3 separate regions of the Homo sapiens genome follow, and all the other regions are linked to region 2. Evidence: promoter capture Hi-C in human tissues and cell types (Jung and others, 2019). All regions are on one chromosome and are shown on one strand. Each heading gives the region's core, a stretch centred on a gene start or on the middle of the fragment in contact. The rest is flanking DNA. Distances are from core to core; before and after follow the strand shown. Region 1 overlaps YTHDF2 (YTH N6-methyladenosine RNA binding protein F2). Region 2 holds the start of SESN2 (sestrin 2). Region 3 overlaps FAM76A (family with sequence similarity 76 member A).

Region 1 (2,700 bases), core at 124-2,623, 490 kb after region 2:
GGCAGGAGGATTGCTTGAGTCCAGGAAATGAAAGCTGCAATGAGCTGTGATCATGCCACTGCACCCCAGCCTGGGTGACAGCAGGAGACTGTCCCTAGAAAAAAAAATTTTTTTGAGGAAATATTCTAATATTTGAAAAACTATTACCCAGTTTAGCAAAGAAGTTGCTCAAAACATGTTTCATGTTTGTATATTGGAACTTACACCTGGAGAGCCACTGAGTCTCTAACCCCGAAGCTCATGGACTACTCCATGATCTATGAAGTTTGCCAGATAGAAAAGTAGAGAAATGGCTAGGTGCAGTGGCTCATGCCCGTAATCCTCGCACTTTGGGGAGGCTGCAGCAAGAGAATCACTTGAACCCAGGAGTTTGAGACCAGCCTAGGCAACATAATGAAATCCTGCCTCTCCAAAAAAAAAAAAAAAAAAAAAAAAAAAAAAAAAAAAAAAATCAGCCAGGTGTGATGAGGCACACCTGTAGTCCTAGTTGCTCAGGAGGCTGAGACAGGAGGATTGCTTGAGCCCGGGACGTCAAGTCTGCAGTGAGTCATGATGGTACCACTGTACTCCAGTCTGGGCACAGTGAGACCCTGTCTTCCAAAAAATGGCATTCTAGTAAGAGCATGTTAAAAACATAGTCTTGAGAATGCTTATGGTATGTTTTCAGAATGAGAAGTTTAATGTGGTCTAGAATGGTAAGTGATAACGCTGGAGAGATTGGTTGGGCAAGTATATGAAGAGTTTCAGGATTTTATTCTTTTTTTTTTTTTTTTTCTGAGACAAAAATCTCGCTTTGTCCCCCAGGCTGGAGTGCAATGGCGCGATCTTGGCTCGCTGCAGCCTCCCCCTCCCAGGTTCAAGCGATTCTCCTGCCTCAGCCTCCCGAGTAGCTGGGATTACAGGTGCCTGTCACCACGCCCAGCTAATTTTTGTATTTTTAGTGGTGACAGGGTTTCATCATGTTGGCTAGGCTGGTCTCAAACTCCTGACCTCAGGTGATCTGCCTGCCTTGGCCTCCCAAAGTGCTGGGATCACAGGTGTGAGCCACTGCGCTCGGCCTAGGATTTTATTCTTTACCTGTGTTTTAGTTTGGTTGTAAGGGAGGGTAGTTAATTAGGGAATAACAGTTTGGAGGATGGGAAGGATGAAACACTTACTGAGCATTGACCTTGTTAAGCACCATGCTAGGTACTTTCATAGCCTTACTTTAATCCCCATACCAACCTGGGAGGCAGTATCCTGTATTTATAGATCAACAAATGGAAGCTTAGGAAAGCAACTTATCAAAACATCTATGAGGCTGGGTGAGTTGGCTCACGCCTCTAATTCCAGCACTTTGGGAGGCCAAGGTTGGCAGGTCATTTGAGGCCATGAGTTTGATACCAGCCTGGCCAACATGGCGAAACACTGTCTCTACTAAAAATACAAAAAAATTAGCCGGGCGTGGTGACGGGCGCCTGTAGTCCCAGCTACTCAGGAGGCTGAGGCAGGAGAATGGTGTGAACACTGGAGGCGGAGTTTGCAGTGAGCTGAGATAGCGCTACTGCACTCCAGCCTGGGCGAAAGAGCGAGACTGTGTCTCAAAAAAAAAATTGGCCGGGCGCGGTGGCTCATGCCTGTAATCCCAGCACTTTGGGAGGCTGAGGTGGGTAGTTCGCAAGGTCAGGAGTTCAAGACCAGCCTGGCAACATGGTGAAACCCCATCTCTACTAAAAAATTAGCTGGGCGTGGTGGTGGGTGCCTGTATTCAGGGGGCTGGGGCAGGAGAATCACTTGAAACCAGAAGGCGGCAGTTGCAGTGAGCCGAGATTGCTCCACTGCACTCCAGCCTGGGCAATGAGAGCAAAACTTCGTCTCAAACAAACAAAAAAATTAGCCAAGAGTGGTGGTGTGTGCCTATAGTCCTATAGTCCCAGCTACTCAGGGAGCTGAGGGATGAGAATCACTTGAACCTGGGAGGCAGAGGTTACAGTGAGCCGAGATCGCAACACTGCATTCCAGCCTGGGTGACAGCTCAAAAAAAAAAAAAAAAAAAAAGGGGTGGGAGATGGCTCAGAGACTAAACGAGATGCTTTTACAGTATTCTGGGGAAAAAAAGATGATGAGGGCCTGAACCAGGACAGTGGGAACGGGAAACTGGATATGAAGAATGTGGTAGACATATTTGTTGACTAGTTTTTCAAAAATTAAAGATGATGAGAGGAGCAGCAGTTTAGGGTTAGGATTTGGGGTTGTATTGGCTTTTGGAAATAGTTTCAGGTGCCTGTGATAGTAGCAGCAGCCAGGTGATAGTAGGCAGCTGGGAATCTGGAGCTCAGATTGTTGACAGGAATTTGAATTTTCAACCCTCAGGATAGGTAAAGGCATGGAAGAGTTTGACTTTTCAAAGATTCTTGTAATAAGAATGGCTAACAGTTATTGAATGCTCTGTACAGTGTCTAGCATACAGTTGTCTTGAATATATATTTAAATGTATGTTCATTTAATTCTTGTATCCTTGTGAGGTAGGTATAAGTAGCTCAGTTTTACTGATGAAAACATTAAAACACAGAAAAGAGTAAATAACTTTGCAAAGGCACATGAGATACGAAAGTAAAGCTGGTGTTCTAATTCTGCAGCGTGGTTCTAGAGCCAACACGAGTGAGAGAAAAGGACTATGGAAAAAGTTCCCCAGAAATAACAAAATTTGAAGAATAAAGA
Region 2 (2,700 bases), core at 56-2,555:
GCTCAGGAGTTTGAGACCAGCCTGGGCAACATATTGAGACCCTGTCTCTATTTACTAAAAAACAAAAAACAAAAACAAAAAAACAGAAAACAAAAAAACAAAAAACAAAAAAAACTAGGTAGAATGTGATACATGTGAAAAGAGATCCAGCTCAAGTGCCTTGGGAGCTCAGGGGAGGGTGAGATTAATCTCTTTTTCCCAAGAATCTGGAGGCAGGAAACCAAGTCGGTTTCATCTTTGGAATTGTAAGCTTAGACTTAGAAGTCTCAGAGGGGGACTTGGGGGTCTTATCCACCCTCACCCCTGGCAGGATTCCCTGTCTAGAATAAACAATAACTTTAAAATGGAAACAAAAAAAGGAGCTCTGAAGGAAAACTGTGAAGGAAGAGGCTCCGTTTGAAATGAATAGAAAATGAATTTAGCTTGGAGGTGCTGAGGTGTTGGTAGAGGCAACTTTCTGGCAAGAGGCGAGTTGAAGGCCAGGAAGTGAATGAGATCAGGGAGAGTGTCTGGAGGGAAGAGGGGCAAAAACAAACTGGGGAAGCACCCACGTTTTAGGAAGTGGGTGGTGAAAGAGGAGTCAGAGAAGGCCAGAGGGAGAGGTGAGCAAAGATCCAGCAGAACACCTTGTTACAAAGTTTCGAGGAGGGTGGGAGGGGTGGAAGCCAGGACGGGTAGCAGAAGGAAGAAAACTTCCAGCAATAGGGATTGAGGTTCCACACGAAGTTACCAATGACATTTCAAGGAATGAAGGCTTTTCCTGAGGCTCCACAAATAAGGTGAATTCCCTGTGTCTCGCATCTTTGGAGCTTCCCCGAGGCCAGGGGGAGCAGGGTTGTGCCCTCTGACCTCTAAATATCTGGGGTTCAGTTCTATAATTAGCAGCACCGGATAGGACGCGAGCCAAACCTCTCTTAACCCTAGCCAGTCCCTCCAGGAACTGAAAAGATGAAGAATTCATTTAGGAGATTTCACACTCGGCTGTTTGGCCTAGCCCAGTGAAGTCCCTTTTCATCACGCAACCCTAATGACTCTTAGGGCTGTCACTGCCGTCTGGTGTTGCCAGGGATCTGACTAAACCGTCTTGCAAAAGTTTGCAGCATTCACCCGAGGCGGACTACAACTCCCAGAATTCCGGGCGCTCCCCGGTGCTGATTGGCGGAGCCCGTGACTCCAGGGGGCGGAGTTTCCCCCGCCTCCCCGGGGAAACAGACCTCTGATTGGCTGGACCGCCGGGCTTTTGTGTCCCCGCCCTCCCCCGGGGACCGCAGCGGGCTGAACTGCTGGTGTCAGAGCCCGGCGAGCGCTGGCAGTTCCGCGGCGGGGATGCTGAGGAGCGCTGGGTCCGGGAGCAGCCCTGGCCCCTGCGGACTTCCGAGGCCGTGAAAACCCCTGCGCTGCGGCCCTTCCCAGGCCCCCGAGGCCGTTCGCCGTTCCCGAAGCCCGACTGGGGGAAGAGTCCAGCACCAAAGCGGCCGTTCTCGGATTCCGGAGCGTTCTGGAGCCCCGAGAGACGCCCCGGGGTTCTAGAAGCTCCCCGGCGGCGCCCAGTCCCGGCTTCATTCGGGCGTCCCTCCGAAACCCACTCGGGTGCACGGGTCGTCGGCGAGCCGCGACCGGGTCCTGGCGCGCACCATGATCGTGGCGGACTCCGAGTGCCGCGCAGAGCTCAAGGACTACCTGCGGTTCGCCCCGGGCGGCGTCGGCGACTCGGGCCCCGGAGAGGTAAGCGGCGGCCGCGCGACGCCCCTCTTCCCTGGAACCCCGAACCGCGTCTGAGCCTCAGGCTGTCCGGAGCTGAGTCGGTGTGTCCTGGGCTCGGGGAGGGAAAGCCGAGCGCGTAACCCGGGACCCGGGTTGCATCAACTGGCAGCCGCGGCCCTCGGCACCCCTCCCCCACTCTGTCTCCCCTCTCCCTCCTTCTCCCCCTCCCTCTCCCCCTCCTCCCTCCCTCTCCCCCTCTCCCTCACCGCCCCACCCCAGGGCCGCGGATCCTTCCTCGGCTCCCTCGGACTCCTGGCCAATGAGGGAGAAGCCTTCTGGAGGCTCTCCGAGCTTTGGGCTCCTGAGCGTCTTCAAGTCCAGGCAAATCCCGGCCGGAGCGGCCAGACCACTCCTCCTCCCCGCCCCCTTCCGCGGAGTCCCTTCCTCTTCGCGGGGGCCGGCGGGCAGAGGACCCTTCCTGGGGTGCCTCCCGGCTCCTGTCCCCCAGCGCGGGGCGTAGGCACCTGGGACTGGCCAGTGAAAGTCGACCTCATCCTATGTCCACCGCACTCCTGCTTTGGAGGGAGAGCGCAGGGGCTCTGGGGGCTTGGCGGGCCGCCCGGTACGCGGCGGCGGCAGCCAAAGCTGGGGGGAGAGGGGACAACCCTGGTCGCGGCTTCCGAAGCCAAGCGCGGGTTAGGCTGCGCCCTGCTAAGTAAGTGGTCTGAAGGCCCAGAAGTTTGTTTTCCAGAAATTCCTCCCCCACCCTCCCTTCGCGCCGCTCCCCTCCACCCCCCCGCATTCGCATCCCGGCATAGCCCGCAGGGGCTTTGCAGGGAGACCGGGAATTAGGCTGGACCTAACCAGACTGACAGTTCGCACTCCCCCACCACTACCAGCAGCAGCGATAATGGACATCTTATCATTTATTATGCACCTACTAGATACCAGGCTCTGAGTTTTTTTCGCCTTTAACCTAAGTCCTCAGGACTAAAC
Region 3 (2,700 bases), core at 11-2,510, 500 kb before region 2:
ATTTTATTACAGTTATCCTTCTTTGTGCGATTGCAGTGGGCTGAATGGAAACACCTGGTTTGTGCTGTGTTAGACTGCATGCTTGAGTGTTTGGGATTTCAAGCTCGCTCTCTTTCTCTCACTATTAGGACTTTTCTTTTTCTTCTTCCTCTTCTCTCTATTTTGGTTCTATTCTTTTTTTTTCTTTTTTCTTTTTTTTTTTTTTTTTTTTTTTGTGGTGGTCACTGCTCAGTGTAATGTGCAGAATGATTTGTTTTTTGTTTTTTTTTTTTTTTTTGGTCCTTCATTGCATCCTGCCATACCCATGAGCAAACAGTTTGGCATTAATTATATATCACTGCCACCCTCTGAACTTTGAAAACTGCCATCTTCAGACTTGGTATAATGGAAGAGGCTTTCTCTCTCCAATAAACCTTTTGCTTCAGGGTATACTCTTCGGTTTTTTTCCAGATGTATTATGTATGAACTTTGTACTATGTATAGCCAGAGTTTTATTTATTTTTTAAAAAAGAAACTTTTTCTTGATAAAGGAATAATGGTGGTCTAGCTAGTTCTTGTAAAAGTGATGCCTCTTGAAAAAAAAACAGTCCTATTCACTAGCTTTTAGTAAAAGAATCAGATCTTTTCTTTCTTGTTACCTTGGAGTCTTAAAAACTGATTGCTAAGGTGAAACAATTCAATGCATAAGTATGGAGCTAAGTGCCTTTTGGAGGATTTCTTGGAAGAGCATTTATGGAGATACTTAAGGGAGGTAGCAAAGATTTGAACCGTCTGTCTTTTTAAGTAAGGGCAGAAAGCAAGGTTGTCCAGGTTGTACTGGACACTTCTCTCCCCACCCCTTTCCTGATTGTTTTATGTGATTGATTTTAAATTCTCACACTGCCACTTCTTTAAAAAATAAAATCCTTTATTTGCTTATATCAGTTGTCATACTGGGCTGCTGTCAGAGAATGTTTTTTTACATGAATGAACAGATTAAAAATGGAATAATATGGTCGGGTGCGGTGGCTCACGCCTGTAATACCAGCAATTTGGGAGGCCAAGGCGGGTGGATCATTTGAGGTTAGGAGTTTGAGACCATCCTGGCCAACATGGTAAAACCCCATCTGTACTAAAAAAATACAAAAATTAGCCGGGCCTGGTGGCATGCACCTGTAATCCCAGCTACCCAGGAGGCTGAGGCAGGAGAACTGCTCGAATCCCGGGAGGCAGAGGTTGCAATGAGCTGAAATCGCAACACTGCACTGCAGCCTGGGCAATGGAGTGAGACTCCGTCTCAAAAAAAAAAAAAAAAGGAATAATATTTGAACTACAGAGCATTTTTGGGGTCAGCATGAGCTGCTCTAGTAAGGACTCTTGAGTCTGGGAAAAGTGGTATCACTATACCTTCTCCCCACTCCTCACCCACCCGAGCCCATACACTCCCTGCTTTTCATGGATATGTATTGAAAACAGGTGCTTCTCAGAAGCACTTTGCCTCAACCAGAGTTATGTATGCCCTGCCTATCTTCCCTTCTTAACCCTGTAGGAATATGGATTTACTTTTCCAGGAAAGGGGATAGATTTACATTTCTAGGCATACTCTCAGGTCCTCTATGTGATGTTTGTGAAAGGAATTAGGGTGTGTCATGTGTGCCATGAAACAACAAAACCAACTACCCTAGAATCATTTATGCAGGGGGTACTAGAGTTAGAAATAATAATGAGGGCAGATAACATTTGTACCTCAGTCTACCAAAAAATTATAGTACTAAATTTAACTTCTAGGCGTTTCCTGGAAGCAGATGCTCTATAATTTGTGATAGCATTCTCATAAATGGAGTCCTACACATAATTGGACAGAGATGTGGAAATGGTGGTTTCCTTCTGATAAGGGATACAGTGGACCATGTCGCTTATATATCACCCTACTAGGGGATATAATTTTCCCTTCTAAGCAAGGGAAATGGCAGTGCTAAATAGTTTTGTAAAGTTTTTGAATGAGAAGCTTTTAGGTAAAGATAAACTGTCATAATATTTTTCAGATGCATTTGCATTGACTATGGGAGAAAAATTAGGGGGAAATGACAGTCATGGTGTTTTTTTTTAATTTTAAGGACTGAAATTCTGTTACATGATGTATGACAATATAAAAACATACTTAGTTTTATACTAAATCTTTTTTTAAGGTCTTGGCATTTAATATAAAGCAAATTCACACGTTTTCTAACTTTCCATAAGTTCCAAAAAGGGAAAGAAGAAACCTCAGTCTTGAAATTTTGATTTTTAAAAATCATGACACTGTTTTACCATGAAATTGAGTAGCTAACTTTTGGTAACACCTTTTGTTTCTTTGTATGTTTGTAATAATGGACATTTTAAAACACAGGAATGTTTTGGTTTGTACAGACTTTGACAAATGTGTGTTAATAAAAATTCATATTGACTCAAGTGTAATTGTTGGATTTTGTTTTTATTTCTTGCTGTTTACCAGTAGACATACCCCGTTATCCCCTTCAGCCCTTCAGCCTAGAAAAGTTTGTCTTGCTTATAGACTTAAAAAATTAAAAGCCTAACTGCTAATTGGGAATTTCCTGTCCATTAGAGAATAAACTCTTTCTTTCTCTCTTCTATGACTGTTTTGAGACAGAGTCTCACTCAGTCATCCAGGCTGGAGTACAGTGGCAAGTAGATCACTGCAGCCCCGACTTCCTGGGGATT

Evidence for each region. Contacts are between HindIII fragments. The study calls those that stand out against the background at their distance.
Region 1: a fragment that was not itself captured here is called in contact with the fragment with the promoter of SESN2 in region 2 in 1 of the 25 tissues and cell types used here (dorsolateral prefrontal cortex).
Region 3: a contact is called between a fragment that was not itself captured here and the fragment with the promoter of SESN2 in region 2, in 1 of the 25 tissues and cell types used here (dorsolateral prefrontal cortex).

What each region holds. Positions count from the first base shown.
Region 1 is chr1:28,752,948-28,755,647 of GRCh38, forward strand. The region is part of intron 4 of YTHDF2 (YTH N6-methyladenosine RNA binding protein F2); the gene reads left to right. Among named protein-coding and RNA genes, the nearest start is that of YTHDF2, 17 kb to the left of the region's middle. RefSeq lists an enhancer at 1,564-2,063. The HindIII fragment of the contact is 8,261 bases long and covers 1-2,700 here.
Region 2 is chr1:28,258,213-28,260,912 of GRCh38, forward strand. SESN2 (sestrin 2) reads left to right here and starts at 1,306. Exons shown (of 10, transcript NM_031459.5): 1 at 1,306-1,725. The coding sequence starts at 1,636. RefSeq lists enhancers at 877-1,056, 1,049-1,897 and silencers at 1,167-1,376, 2,157-2,216. The HindIII fragment of the contact is 10,821 bases long and covers 1-2,700 here.
Region 3 is chr1:27,760,687-27,763,386 of GRCh38, forward strand. FAM76A (family with sequence similarity 76 member A) reads left to right here. Exons shown (of 9, transcript NM_152660.3): 9 at 1-2,430. Among named protein-coding and RNA genes, the nearest start is that of STX12, 11 kb to the right of the region's middle. The HindIII fragment of the contact is 6,157 bases long and covers 1-2,700 here.